Linked DNA regions of Homo sapiens: all the other regions are linked to region 3. Evidence: promoter capture Hi-C in human tissues and cell types (Jung and others, 2019). All regions are on one chromosome and are shown on one strand. Each heading gives the region's core, a stretch centred on a gene start or on the middle of the fragment in contact. The rest is flanking DNA. Distances are from core to core; before and after follow the strand shown.

The links. The method cuts DNA at HindIII sites, captures the fragments that hold promoters and counts their contacts. A contact is called where the count stands out against the background at its distance.
Region 1: a contact is called between a fragment that was not itself captured here and the fragment with the promoter of SHISA9 in region 3, in 3 of the 25 tissues and cell types used here (psoas muscle, small bowel and spleen).
Region 2: a contact is called between a fragment that was not itself captured here and the fragment with the promoter of SHISA9 in region 3, in 1 of the 25 tissues and cell types used here (mesendoderm cells).

The regions. Positions count from the first base shown.
Region 1 is chr16:12,863,496-12,868,024 of GRCh38, forward strand. No RefSeq gene overlaps it. Among named protein-coding and RNA genes, the nearest start is that of SHISA9, 36 kb to the right of the region's middle. The HindIII fragment of the contact is 3,145 bases long and covers 1-3,014 here.
Region 2 is chr16:12,935,915-12,940,624 of GRCh38, forward strand. All of the region lies in intron 2 of SHISA9 (shisa family member 9), which reads left to right. LOC105371092 (a long non-coding RNA gene) reads right to left here. Exons shown (of 3, transcript XR_001752088.3): 3 at 2,227-2,340. Among named protein-coding and RNA genes, the nearest start is that of SHISA9, 37 kb to the left of the region's middle. RefSeq lists an enhancer at 3,770-4,710. The HindIII fragment of the contact is 6,366 bases long and covers 1-4,458 here.
Region 3 is chr16:12,900,337-12,905,163 of GRCh38, forward strand. It overlaps SHISA9 (shisa family member 9), which reads left to right and starts at 1,262. Exons shown (of 5, transcript NM_001145204.3): 1 at 1,262-2,291. The coding sequence starts at 1,729. The HindIII fragment of the contact is 6,671 bases long and covers 1-4,562 here.

The sequences.
Region 1 (4,529 bases), core at 192-2,691, 37 kb before region 3:
GCTGAGGCACAAGAATCGCTTGAACCTGGGAGGCGGAAGTTGCAGTGAGCTGAGATCCCACCACTGGACTCCAGCCTGGGCGGCAAGAGCAAAACTCTATCTCACACACACACACACACACACACACACACAAAACAAGTCTGGCTACTTTCAAGCTGGGACAAGCTGGTCACTTTATGGCATCAAGCCTAAAGCTTACTACCTGTGTGAGCTCAGCCTCCAAAGCCTTAACTTCATTTTGCTAAAAATGGAGATAATGATACTGACCATATAGGATTATCAGAAGGATTTTTATGTTTGATATCAAGAAGGCAGTGATATTTGAGTAGGTCCACATTTTTGGTCTTGTTTTCTCCTCAACATAGCCCTATGATTACATAGAGCAGAAATTACAAACCCATTTTTTCAGGTGGAAAAACAGTGTAGTGGATCCAGTCACTTGTCTCTTCTAACATCTGTTCAACTGTTTTTCTAGGACGTCTCTCGTACTGCAGAGACTGGAAAGTGAAAATCTGTAACATGTTTTCCAGACTCCCTTGTAGCTAGCGCTCCTGGTCTGATTCAGAACCACCAATCATATGGACTCACCAAAGACTTGAGTTTAGAATGAAGTTTGGTGGGGAGATGAGGCATCCAACTTGGTGTTAGCTCACAGCAGATGAGATGTGGCTTGACAAAGAGCAGGAGGAGGGATTGTTTCCTGCATCTGGGCCATGGTTAAGGTGGTGTGATCCTGAAGCCAGACATCAGAAGGTGGCTTTCTTTTTTTCTTTTTCTTTTTCCTTTTTTTTTTTTGAGATGTAATCTCGCTCTGTCACGAGACTGGAGTGCAGTGGCGCGATCTCATCTCACTGCAACCTCCACCTCCCAGGTTTAATCGATTCTCCTGTCTCAGCCTCCTGAGAAGCTTGGACTACAGGTGAACACCACCACATCCGGGTAATTTTCATATTTTTAGTAGAGATGGGGTTTCACCATTTTGGCTAGGATGGTCTCGATCTCTTGACCTTGTGATCTGCCCACCTTGGCCTCCCAAAGTGATGGGATTACAGGCGTGAGCCACTGCGCCTGGCCCAGAAGGTGGCTTTCTGCTGGCCCTTCTTCCTCTTTCTCTGATGGGCAAGTTCTGAGATGCTGCTCTGGAAGTCGTTCCTAGAGGACAGCCTAGATCCTGCTCCTCCAGCCCTCATAACAATTTTGTTTGATCTAATTTTTCTTTTCTTTTTTTGAGATGGAGTCCCACTCTGTCACCCTGGCTGGAGAGCAGTGGTGTAAACTCAGCTCACTGCAGTCTCTGCCTCCCAGGTTCAAGTGACTTTCCTACCTCAGCCTCTTGAGTAGCTGGGATTATAGGCACCCGCCACCATGCCCAGCTAATTTTTGTATTTTTAGTAGAGACAGGGATTTCACCATGTTGGCCAGGCTGGTCTCGAATTCCTGACCTTCAGTGATCTGCCCGTCTTGGTCTCCCAAAGCTCTGGGATTACAGGAGTGAGCCCCCATGCCCAGCCTGAACTGAATTCTTTCTATTAAATTCTTTTTTGCCTTACGTAGTGGGAGAGATTTTGCAGCTGAATCCCAGATGATACAATGGGGCACAGAGAAGTTATGCCACTTGTCCTAATAAAAGTTAAGTGTTTGATATTGCTGGTACTTAAAAAACATCCCTACAGATATTAATTTCATTTCCTGTGGATTTTCCACTTTATTTTACTTCTTTGAGCCCCTGTTTCCTCATCTGTCAAATAGAAATAATAATATTTATCTTGCAGGAGATGTGAGAATTGAACAAGGTCATAGATAATAAATTATTAGAGTCATGTAGATAATCCACAAATGGCACCTATTAATAATAAAAACTGGCTTTATAAGAAAGTCTATCAGTTAGGATGTGCTGGTTTTTTTTTGTTGTTGTTGTTGTTTTTTGAGACGGAGTTTTGCTCTTGTTGCCCAGGTTGTAGTGCAGTGGTGCGATCTCAGGTCACTGCAACCTCTGCCTCCCAGGTTCAAGAGATTCTTCTGCCTCAGCCTCCTGAGTAGCTGGGATTACAGGCATGTGCCACCACACCCGGCTATTTTTTTTTTTTAGTGGAGACGGGGTTTCTCCATGTTGGCCAGGCTGATCTTGAACTCCCGACCTCAGGTGATCCACCCACCTCAGCGTCCCAAAGTGCTGGGATGACAGGCGTGAAGCACTGTGCCTGGCCCATTTCAATATCTTAAAACAGAAAAGGTTTATTTCTCGTTCACGCTCATTGATACGTCTAGAGTTGGCAAGGGGTGTTCTGCTCCTCTTGGTTACTCAGGGGTCCAGGCTAATGGAGCAGCCGCCGTCTCATATGCACACTCATGAAAGAAGACAGCATTGGAGGGTCTTCAGTGAGCAATACAATCCTTGGCTTGCAGCAATATGGGGTACGTGCACTCACAATTCATTCTCCAAAACTAGTCACAAGGTCCCACCCAATCACAGGGGAACCAGGAAATGTAGTGCTGTCATGGGATAAGCTGGACAAAATATTTGGTGACCACATAGAGAGTGGAAGTGGAGTGACAACAAGACAGGAAGCTGTGCAGTGCTTCCAACATTTCTAAACTTCAGAACTTGTTCCATCTCCTATTAGGAACTGCAAGACTGCAATTGGATGGTTGGAAAGAAATTAAAGGGCATTTTCAGACAGCTGGAAGGAAGTCTGGAATTAGGAATCCTTCCAACACTTCGGTTTCTCTTGCTTTGCTACATCCCATTCCCCTCCCAGAATCCGGAGTGCTCCATGTGAACATGAATCAGATCACATTATCTTCCCACTTAAAATCGTCAAATGATGCTAAAAAGAAAACCCAAGCTTCTCACGATAGTGCTTCATGACTGTATTAGTTATTGATGGCTGCACAACAAATATTTCCCCAAATATAGGGACTTAAGAGAACAATAAACCTTTATTATCTCATGCAGTTTCTTTATTCTGTTTTTTTTTCCTTCTTTTTGAGACAGGGTCTTGCTCTGTTGCCCAGGCTGTAGTGCGGTGGTGTGATCATAGCTCACTGCAGCCTCGATCTCCTGGGCTCAAGAGCTCCTTCTGTTTCAGTCGCCCAAGTAGTTGAAACTTCAGGCATGTGTCACCCCACCTGGCTAGTTTTTTAAATGTTTTGTAGAGACAGTGTCTTGCTATGTTGTCCAAGCTTGTCTTGAACTCCTAGCCTCAAGTGATCCTCCTCCTTCAGCCTCCTAAAGTTCTGGGATTACAGATGTGAGCCACTGTGCTCGGACTAATGCAGCTTTTCTTGGTCGGGCATTTGGGAGTGACTCAACTGGGTGTCCTGGCTTATGGTCTTTCAGAGGTTGCCATTATGACACAGGTTGGGATTGCAGTCGTCCGAAGGCTTTGTTGGGCTAAAGGATCCAAGATGCACTCACATGGCTAGAAGGTTGATGCTGGCTATTGGTAGGAGGCCTCAGTTCCTTATAACACGGACCTTCCCATGAGACTGCTGAACTGTCCTCATGATACGGTGGTTGGCTTTGTCCAGAGTGAGTTGTCTGAGAAAGAGAGGGCAAGGCAGAAGCTGCAATGTTCTTCTATAACCCAGTCTTAGAACCCACACCCTGTCACTTCCCCCAGGTCCCCTAGGTCAGCCATATTTATTGTTTACACAAGGGTGTAAATTCCAGGAGGCAGAGATCATGGGGGCATCCAGGAGGCTAGCAGGCAGTGACTTAGTGCTCTGATTTTATCTTCTGTTGATTCACTAAGCACTCCTCACATTGAACTTCTATCTGTTTGAAACATGCTAAGCTGAGCCAAACCGAAGGCTTTTGCTTGCTCTTCCCTCCACATGAGATTCTGTTTCTCCAATCTGCTTCATCATCACATTTGGGTTTTGGCTCAACTGTTGTTTTCTTAGAGAGGCTTTCCCTGACCACCCTGTCCAATATTGCTCTTCCCTGCAGTCCCCACTCCAGGCCAATTGCTAGCACATCATTCTATTTATTTCCTTCACTCTTTGAAATCACTTTATTTATTTATTTATTTAGAGACAGGGCCTCGTTCTGTTGCCCAGGCTGGAGTGCAGTGGCGTGATCTTGGCTCACTGCAGCCCTGACCTTCTGGGCTCAAGCCATTCTCCTGCCTCAGCTTCCTGAGTAGCTGGTACTACAGGTGCATGCCACCATGCCTGCCTACTTTTTTCATTTTTTGCAGAGATGGGGGGGGGTCTCACTATGCTGCCTAGGCTTGTCTTGAACTCCTGCACACAAGTGATCCTCCTGCCTTGGCCTCCCAAAATGCCTGGATTACAAGCATGAGCCACTGCACTCAGCTGTAGTCTGAAATCGCTGTAATTACTGATTAGTTTATTAGGCCTCCGTCTCCTCTCTTAAGACTTCGGCTCCCTGAGAGTGGGCTGGGCCCATTATGCTCATCCCAGCATCTCCAGCACCTGGTATAGCTCCTCGTCCATAGCAAGTGAACCATACCTATGTGCCTAGTAAAAGAACAGCCTCCAGCCTCCCACCTCCCATAGGGAAA
Region 2 (4,710 bases), core at 26-2,525, 36 kb after region 3:
AGTGGACATGAGGGCCAGGAGGGAACGTGTTCTCAGAAGGCTACTGAGGCAGGTGGAAAGGAACTAGCCTTACTTGAAGAGAGGGGCTGCCTTCCAGAGTGAGGAGTGATGAAGCCGACTGACAAATGGAAGGCTTAGAAGTCCAGGTAAGGGAATTTAGAACGGAGTCTCTGGGAGTTCTTGAGTAGATGCATCGTCTGATGTCCCTTCGCTAGCAGGTGCTTCGTTGGGTTCTTGGGATGACGGGTGAGAAAGGCCTTTAAGACAATTTGGGGAAGCTCTCCAGCAATCTCAAACAGCTGCCACCACCTTACCCAGGAAGTCCTTGTTCCCACCCTTCTCCAAAGCCTTTTGAGGGTTGCTAGGAAACTGGGGATACTTGAGCAGTTGGGATCTGATTATAATAATTTTCTAGGTTTCCATGGCTGGAGTAGGAGCCAGGTTGGTCCAATGTCATATTCTCTTACCTTACTGTGGAGCACAGTGAGGCATAAGTGTCTTTAAGTTATGTGAACTCAACTCTGTGATCTCAGTTCAGGGATGGGAGAAGGGATGGAGGAGGGGAAGAAAGAGAGAGAGTGTAACATAAATAATGTGAGTATTTCTGTTTCCCATTCCACACAATGAGCATATGCTCAAAGTGAGATGGGAGACATGAGTCTGCTTTTGCTTCAGACAGACTCACTTCCCACGAGCTTCTCCAGAGTGTGATTCTAGCATTTAAAGATATGCATTTTTCATATAACTTGGCCCCTAAACACAAGCCAGTTACTTCATCTGGTGCTGAACCAGAGAAACAGCCATCATGGGTAATTTTGGCTGAATATGATTTTAGCTGCTCCCTCTGGCCTCAGATCTCTACACGAGACAAGACTCTACTGTTATTTTGTAAAACCCCTACTCGGTGCCTATGAATGATGCCATATGGCTCCTGCTTGTTTACAGATTTGTCTAAGCCCTTGAGGTAAACGGAATCCAACCATTGACACCCTTGACACACAGCACGGGTTGGCTAGAGGGCGGTGGGGTTTGTGTATTTGTTCCTTACTCCAACACTGTCTTTTAAGATCACTATTGTAACCTGGAACACAGGATATCCCCCAAGTAATTTCACATACTTAGCTGGTCCTCTTGTGAACCACAGCTCCTTCCCCTGTGTTGTACAAGCCCACCTATGTGCATATTTTTTGAAATTTTAAGAATTGAGTTTTAGATGATTTGTGGAGCTTGGAATTTCCCAGAAGGATGACTTGCTCAGGTCTCTAGGCAGTGTCTTATGTCTAGCAGTCTGTCCATGTACATATAGTACATTTAAAAAAATTAACGTATTTATCTATTTGAATAGGTCAATATGTACATGGTAGAAAAGAAAGTAAAGCAATATTCAAGGACGTGAAGCAAACACTAAGTGCCCTCTCTCCTCAAGCACTCTAATTCTCCTCTCCAGAGTCAACCACTGTAATAAGTTTATTGTCTGTTCTCACAAAGATATTCTATGCATTTACTAACATTTCTGAACACTTCTGCACCTTGCTGATTTCATTTAATAGTGGGCATATTAGTCTGCTTGGGTTGGCCTAACAAAATAACACAGACTGGGTGGCTTAAACAACAGGAATTTATTTTCTCACAATTCTGGAGGGTAGACATACCAGACCAAGTCCATCAGGGACAGTTTTGGAGAGGGCTCCCTTCCTGGCTTGCAGACAGCCACCTTCTTGCTGTGTCCTCACATGGTGGAAAGAGAGAGAGCACTCTGGTGTTTCTTCCTCTTCTGATAAGGGGACCCACCCTGTGAGATTAGGGCCCCATCCTTATGACTTCATTTGATCTTTGTCATCTTCTCACAGACCCCATCTTCAAATACAGAACCATTGGGGGTTAGGGTTTCAACATATGAATTTTGAGGGCACACAAACATTCAGTCCATAACAGTGGATACTGGAGACTTTTTTTTGCTTTTGGTCTATTTAGACCTAGATATATCTTTTGCCCTTTTGCTGTGAGCTGAGCCTGGAGGATTGGTACCAGCTGTGATTTTATAAGGTGAGGCAGCTGGAATCCAGAGAGGTAAATGGAATCCAACTATTGAAACCCTTGAGGAGCATACAGAGATCTTGGCCAGTGGCCACCAGTCTCTCCTTGATGAACTGTTGCTGGACTTGTAGAATGGATTGTGATTCTTATGAGGCCATGGCTGTCCTCAAAGCTTAGTGTAAGAGGGAAAGCCTTGGTTAGGTGTTGGGGTCCATCCCGAGAAGGGGAAGAATAAAGCTATGCTTGTTCCAATCTGTATATTTTCCGATGGGTCAGTTCTTCATCTTCCAGAAGCTCAGCAGCCTGGGGGAATTGAGACCATAGTGGGGCTATCAATGACTTACTGCAACTCTCCCTGGAATACCTCTCTCTTTTCTTGCTAGACAAGTCTTACACATTTTGAGAACTCAAGGCAAAGCTCAGCTCCTTATAATCGATCTATCTGTTTCTTCCACTCCCATGACTCTTTCTTAGTGATGTGCTCAATTCTGTTCTCTCCAAGTCAGCTTACATTTATTGACTCCTAGGGGCTAATTCTCTCTCTCTCTCTCTCTTTTTTTTTTGAGATGGAGTTTCACTCTTGTTGCCCAGGTTGGAGTGCAATGGCATGATCTTGGCTTCCTGCAACCTTTGCCTCCCAGGTTCAAGTGATTCTCCTGTCTCGGCCTCCTGAGTAGCTGGGATTACCGGCACCTGCCACCACGCCCAGCTAATTTTTTTTTTGTATTTTTAGTAGAGAGGGGGTTTCACCATGTTGGCCAGGATGCTCTTGAACTCCTGACCTCAGGTGATCTACCCACCTCAGCCTCCCAAAGTGTTGGAATTACAGGCGTGAGCCATTCTGCCTTTTGACTTTCCATGCCATGTTGCCTTTGACTTTGATTTTTGTGGTGTATCTTAATTTTCCTAGGAGTCTGTAGTTTTCTCTCTAACTAGATTGAAAACACATTGAGGGCAGCAAATACTTCTAAGTTCTCCCTCCCATGTTGAGTATGTGCCATGTTCCAAGTAAGCATTGAGGGTGGATATTCATTGAGTTAGTACATTCAGATGATGTTTTGGGGGAAAAACTCCATCAGGAAGTAGTTTCATCTCTTCTCTCCTCTCCCCTCCTCTCCTTTCCTCTTCTCTCCTCTCCTTTTCTTTCCTTCTGATGGAGTCTCCCTCTGTCACCCAGGCTGGAGTGCAGTGGCACAATCTTGGCTCACTGCAGCTTCTGTCTTCCAAGTTCAAGCGATTCTCCTGCCTTAGCCTCCTGAGTAGCTGGGATCACAGGTGCTCACCACCACGCCTGGCTAATTTTTGTGTTTTTAGTAGAGACGGGGTTTCACCATGTTGGCCAAGCTGGTCTCAAACTCCTGACCTCAGGCAATCCACCCATCTTGGCCTCCCAAAGTGCTGGGATTATAGGAGTGAGTCACTGCGCCTGGCCAGGAAGTAGTTTCTTTTGAATATCCCTGATTGGCCCATACTTTTCCTCCCAGAGGTTTGTTGTTGGTGAAATACAACCCTTGTGTGCACTGGTCACAAGCCCTTTTCATTGTACTTTGAATGGAATCCTGCAGTTGACTATGAGAATGAGCGTGGACCATAGTTCTCATTTATGATTTAAGTCAACCCCATGGGAAATTTATACTCACGGAGGTTGTCACTTGTCCAAGTGGCTATGTTGGGATTTGAATCCCTAGATCTGTCTGACTTGTGCTTTTTTTCCACTCCATCAACTTTTCCCAACCTTCCTCTTTCCCCATCACCTGCCTCTCCCTGTCTATTGTGCTATTCAATGAAACATCATAGAGAGGATAGATGTGATTCAGCATCTGGCATATACCTGCTGTAGATGCTGTAGAACAGATTCTCTGCAAGTGCTTGTTAATGTAAGTTCTCTCCGCAGAACCTCATTCTCTTGAGACAGCAATGCTGAGAAAGCAAATCTGGGACTGGGGCTGTGATATATTCAAATTTGACAGCCTCATCCTCCTCCTAGGTGATTCTGATGTCAGTGGTCCTGAGGCCATATTTTCAGGAATACTGCCTTAAAAGTCATTATTATCCAACCAACGAATTCTTACTCTGTAGGCAACTAAAGGTTGACCCTTCCCAAGGGTCACATTTTAATGGTGTGTTTCACTTTTAACCCTGCTGGGGAGGAGAGAATTTTTGATTGGATGATCTTGAGGGGCAGAGTGTTCTTCTGCCTGCTTGTGGTTCCATCATGGTCACTTTCCAAGGTCTGAGGCAGAGGCCAGAGCTTGGGCTTGGGGGCCCATCTTGCCATTGTTAGATACAGTTAGTTTCCCTCTTCTAACAGCTTATCCAGTTTCCCTGTTCTCTATACTATAATTCCAAATACCCCCTTGCCTTTGCTGCACCCCAGCTTGTCTGAATATGCCTAGGCATGCCTGAACTTGCTACAACCCCAGTCCACATTCCTTTCCTTATTCGGGAATAGGTTACCTTCCTAGTCCCCCCATAAATGACCCCCCATCTCTCTCTTCTCACCTCACTATGTGCCTGCCTTATCTAAGAAAGTTTAAATGTCAAGCCAATCAGGACTAGTTTAGACTGTGCGGTCCAACCCTAGCCAATAGGGGAAAGACACAGAGGCAGAAGCTGCATTAGAGAAAATAAAAACCCCTGCTTTCCTTTGTTCTGTGTGCTCTCACCATTGCT
Region 3 (4,827 bases), core at 12-2,511:
GACTGCAGCCAAGTGGAGAGGAGGGTTGTGGAAACATTATCTCCTTGCAAATCGCCTAGCAGCCTGCAAAGTGTATACTTAGTTAATGCAATTAAAAAACAAAACGCCGGGGCGTGGGGAGATCTAAATTTGGTGTAGCAGCTTTGGTGCAAATCCTGTTTTGGGGCTACTGGAGTCAAATTCAAGCAGAGGAGAGAAAGAGGTGGGAGAAATGAGAGAGGGCCTCCGGGGAGCTGGAATTCGCTAGGAGAGAGAGGGCAGATTTGGAAACACAGAGGAGACGGGAGGCTGGAAGCTGAGGAAGCAAGGCAGAGCTCTGCAGCCCCCGGTGAGGATTTCCGGGGGGATCCGTGGGGACAGGGGCCAGCCAGCTCCAGAGACCGATGCGCGGGCTCCAGGTCCGGGAGGGTGGCTGAGGCTGGGTGCCCAGGCCTTGCGCTGCGCCAGATCCGGGAGCGCAGAGGCGGCGCCGCGGTGTTCCCTCCTGTGGAGCGCAGAAAACGCTGCGGGGGCGAAGAGGGACAGAAAGCGGCAGGTTCGAGAGGCTGGGGGACTTCCAAGGAAAGACCTTCCAGGACACGCCATAGCCTCGGCCTTGTTCGGCTGTCCCCTCTTACCCCCGACCTTCTTTGATTCGTTCATCCCGAGCCCCTCTCCCCCGGAGGGTGCTTATCCCTGGCTCAGGGGCTTGCCACCTGTCCTTCCCAGCTCCGCCTGGGTCCTTGCTTGGGCCCAGAGAGTTGAGCCATGCGGGTTGCGCTCAGGGCTGGAGGGCGCAGCCGGGAAGGGCAAGGAGGCCCCGCACGCCTGGGAGGGGCGATCCTGACCAGACTGCACCCAGTCTGTCTTGGAGTGAAAGCCATTTAGTCTGTCCCCATCCTCTCCGAGTCATCCTTCCCCTGATGCACAGATTTCGGCCGCCGCTCCTGCACACGCACCGGTGAAAAAGCTACGAGCTGAGCCGCCTCTGCGCTCTGGACAGGGCTGAGCCGCGCCTCCTACCCAGAGAGGGCGCGGGAGGTCCTGCCGCGGTTTTCCACCTGCCTGGAAATCCGAGCGGCTCCTCTAGCCTCGGCTGCTGCCGAGCTCGCTCCTCCCCGTCCGCTCGCCTGGCTCAGCTCTGCACGCCCCCCAGCTAGCTCCCGCTCTAGTCACCTCTTCCCCGCGCCCCCGCCCCTCTAGAGCTCGCGCCCGCCCCCCCCCACCCGCGCCTCCTCTGCCCGCCCTCCTCCCCCTCCCCCTTCCCTCCTGCCCTCCCTTCATTCCACAAGTGTCGCTTCGCTCTCTTCAGCGCACTTGGCGAGCTGGTGAGGTGAGAGGGATACTGCGAGAGGGCTAGGGGCGGCCAGTCCGGGGCTGCCGGCCAAGGCTAGGCGCTGCCAGCCCGATTCTCCTCTGCTCTCCACCCCCGCCTCACCCAGTGGCCGGCCGGACCTGCACCCCGCGCTTGACCCCGCTCATCCTCCCCCCGCCCGGCCGGGCGCGCTCCTCCCCGGCCGGCCCCTCGGCGCGCGGCGCGCTGGAGGCGAACGCGGGCTGAGGCGAACGCGGGCTGAGCCGAGCGCAGTGGCCGCCGACCACCGAGCGCCCCGCGCCGCTCCCTGCATGTGCGGCCCGCGGCGGCTCGCAGCTCCCGGCAGCAGCCTCGGCAGCTTCGGCCGCGCCTCGAGAGGCGGCCGCAGAGGCTCCAGCGGCGGCCGAGCGGCCGAGCCCGGGCTGGGAGACACCATGCGCCGCGTCCTTCGGCTGCTCCTCGGTTGCTTCCTCACCGAGCTGTGCGCCCGCGTGTGCCGGGCGCAGGAGCGAGCGGGACACGGGCAGCTGGCGCAACTGGGCGGCGTGTTGCTGCTGGCGGGGGGCAACCGCTCCGGGGCCGCCTCCGGAGAGGCCAGCGAGGGCGCTGAGGCATCGGACGCGCCCCCGACCCGGGCGCCCACGCCGGACTTCTGCCGGGGCTACTTCGATGTCATGGGCCAGTGGGACCCGCCGTTCAACTGCAGCTCGGGCGACTTCATCTTCTGCTGCGGGACTTGTGGCTTCCGGTTCTGCTGCACGTTTAAGAAGCGGCGACTGAACCAAAGCACCTGCACCAACTACGACACGCCGCTCTGGCTCAACACCGGCAAGCCCCCCGCCCGCAAGGACGACCCCTTGCACGACCCCACCAAGGACAAGACCAACCTGATCGTCTACATCATCTGCGGGGTGGTGGCCGTCATGGTGCTCGTGGGCATCTTCACCAAGCTGGGGCTGGAGAAAGCGCACCGGCCCCAAAGGGAGCACATGTCCAGGTGGGCTGCCTCCCCTTCGCCCTCCCCTCGGGGCTTCGCTCTCCCTGCTCTCTCCTCCCCACCTTCCCCCAGGCAATGGCGCTCCCCACGGTCCCCGCTCCCCGCATCCCAGCCTCTCCGCTGGGGGATGTCACCGGGAAGCCAACTTCGGCTTGGAACACGGAGAAGGGGCGCTGGGCTCAGCACAGGTGTGGGTCTGAGCGTGTTCGTGTGTGTGTGAGCGTGTGTGTGTGTGTGTGTGACTCTGCTCCCTCACCCTCTGGCCGCCTCCTCCCGCTGGTGACTGAGGCGGACTTGAGACACGTAGCCTGGGAGCCCGTGGCCCCGAAATCTTCGGGTTTGGGGAGAGGGTCCATGGCACCCCTCGGATTCCAGGTGCTAGCTTTTTGGTAAACAGGGGCAGGCGAGCCCGAAAGGGGAGGGGGGCGTGTGTGAGCCCGAGCGCGCGTGTGTGAAGGAGGGAGGGTCAGAGTGAGTGCCGCCTGCAACTCGTACGACTCGCGAAAAGGAGACGAGGGAGGTGGAGTGAGGGGAGGGCGAGAACAAAAGCCTTGCTTGGAGCGGCCGCCTCGCTTTCCCAGAGCTTCGCCGTCCCTGGATTTGGGACCTCAGCTGCCCCCGCCCCTTTACCCACCTCATCCCTTTCTCTGGCCACCACTTCTCCCTGCCCGGGGCCGTGGCCATCGCTGCAGATTGAGCCCCTTGCCCTGGCTGGCGTGGACTCCGGGGGCCCGAGCCCCCTCCTCGCGCGCCCTCACTTCCAAGCACCCTGATTTCGTCAACTTTCGGGTTTGCCTTGTTCATTATGCAAGCCCCAGCACCAGCTAGTTCCAGCAGATGGGAGAAGGCTTTGGGGGATTAATGGAGCTATTTGCCTTTTGCTTTTTTTAAATTTTTTTTATTTTAAGTGTCTAAATCGATTCGCAAACTCCGTAACTTTGGAGGCGGAGGACGCAGCCACTAGGAGCACTAAGCCCCCGGCCGCGGGAGAGGCTGGGGGTTGGCGTGAGGTCCGGGCGGGCGGGGTGGAAGGAGTGACTAGCGGCCTGCGAACAGCTGGATGGTTGGGGCATAAGCTTTAACTGTCCCCTTTCAGAGTCTGGGCAACGAAGTCGCTGTATTTTTCTCTACCCTCTCCCCACCCCTTCTTCCGCGCCCCCTCTGCCGGGGGCCTGTGTGTGTGCGCGCGTGTGTGCACGCGCTCCGTGTGATGCCTAAAAAATCTGAACAAAGAGACCCACCAAAAATAGGCAAAGGAACATCACCACCTCACTAGTAATTATTTTCTATTTATACGCAGAGTATCCGATGAGATTTTTTTTTTTCCCCCAGAGAGAAGAGATTTTGGGGGAAGAGGTGAGGAAGTTCTCGGTTTGGGTCAGCAGGGAGCTGTGGGTGGATGGTGGGGTCTTGCTGCACAGAAGTAAGCTCCGAGGGGCTTCAAAGAAACCCTGACCTACTAAAGGAGTAAAGCTCTGGCCCCGCCCACCTTCCGCAACCACAGGGTGGCCTGTCCCCAGCCCCACCGGCCAGGCCAGTCCCTGTTAATTCCCCGGGTCTGTGTTAAGATGAGGGGAGAAGTGGTCTCAGGACTGAGGCAGCGGGTGTCGCCTTGGTAGGGAAAGATTGACTCCGAGACAGGTAGGCTGCCTTGCAGATTTGGTTAACTACTGCTGAAATCTCCATCAAGCCCTGCCCTCGCGAACCAGCTCTTAAAAGAGTCCTCCTTGATGGTTGGCCTGACGGGAGGTGAGCAGGTGGGGAGAGGAGCTAACCTTTGGGCATCTGTGGGAGAAAGTGATGCTAGATCAGCCCTCTTTGATCTGGGCGTTCTGGTGACAGCTCTCTACCGGTTACCCAAGGGCCCAACTTCCTGGTCCTGCCCCCGTGCAGCTCTGCTGGGGGAAAAATGAACACAGCTGAGCGGGTTGCAGCTACTTTCTTCTGCAGGTATAGGGAGGGTCGGCCTGGTGGCAGAATCTAGGGGACCCAGTCCTAGGGTACCAGAGCCTCAACACAGGTCCTCCCAGTATACATTTTTGAGAATTCCAGAATGGAGTGGAAGTGCATACTCCCGAAAAGAGAGTTGTTGATTTTTACTGGCAGCTTCTAAGGTATGATTTTCAACTGTAACTGCTGTGTAGTATTACCTAGAATGTTTTATAAAAAAAATCCTGTCACCAGGGGTCCCACCCTAGGCTACTTAGATCCAAATCTCTAGGGTGGGACCTGAGCATCTGTATTATTATTTATTTATTTTTTGTATTTTTAGTAGAGACGGGTTTTCACCATGTTGGCCAGGCAGGTTTTGAACTCCTGACCTCCAGTGATCCTCCCACCTCAGCCTCCCAAAGTGCTAGGACTACAGGCATGAGCCACTGTGCCCGATTGCATCTGCACCTTGAAAAGCTCTCCAGGTGATGCTAATGTGCAGCCAATCGCTGTTAAGGAAAAGGAACTAATGCCTGCTGAGCACTGTGCAGGGAGCCAGGCACTGTACTGGGGTGTGTGTGTGTGTGCAAGTAAACACTCTCTC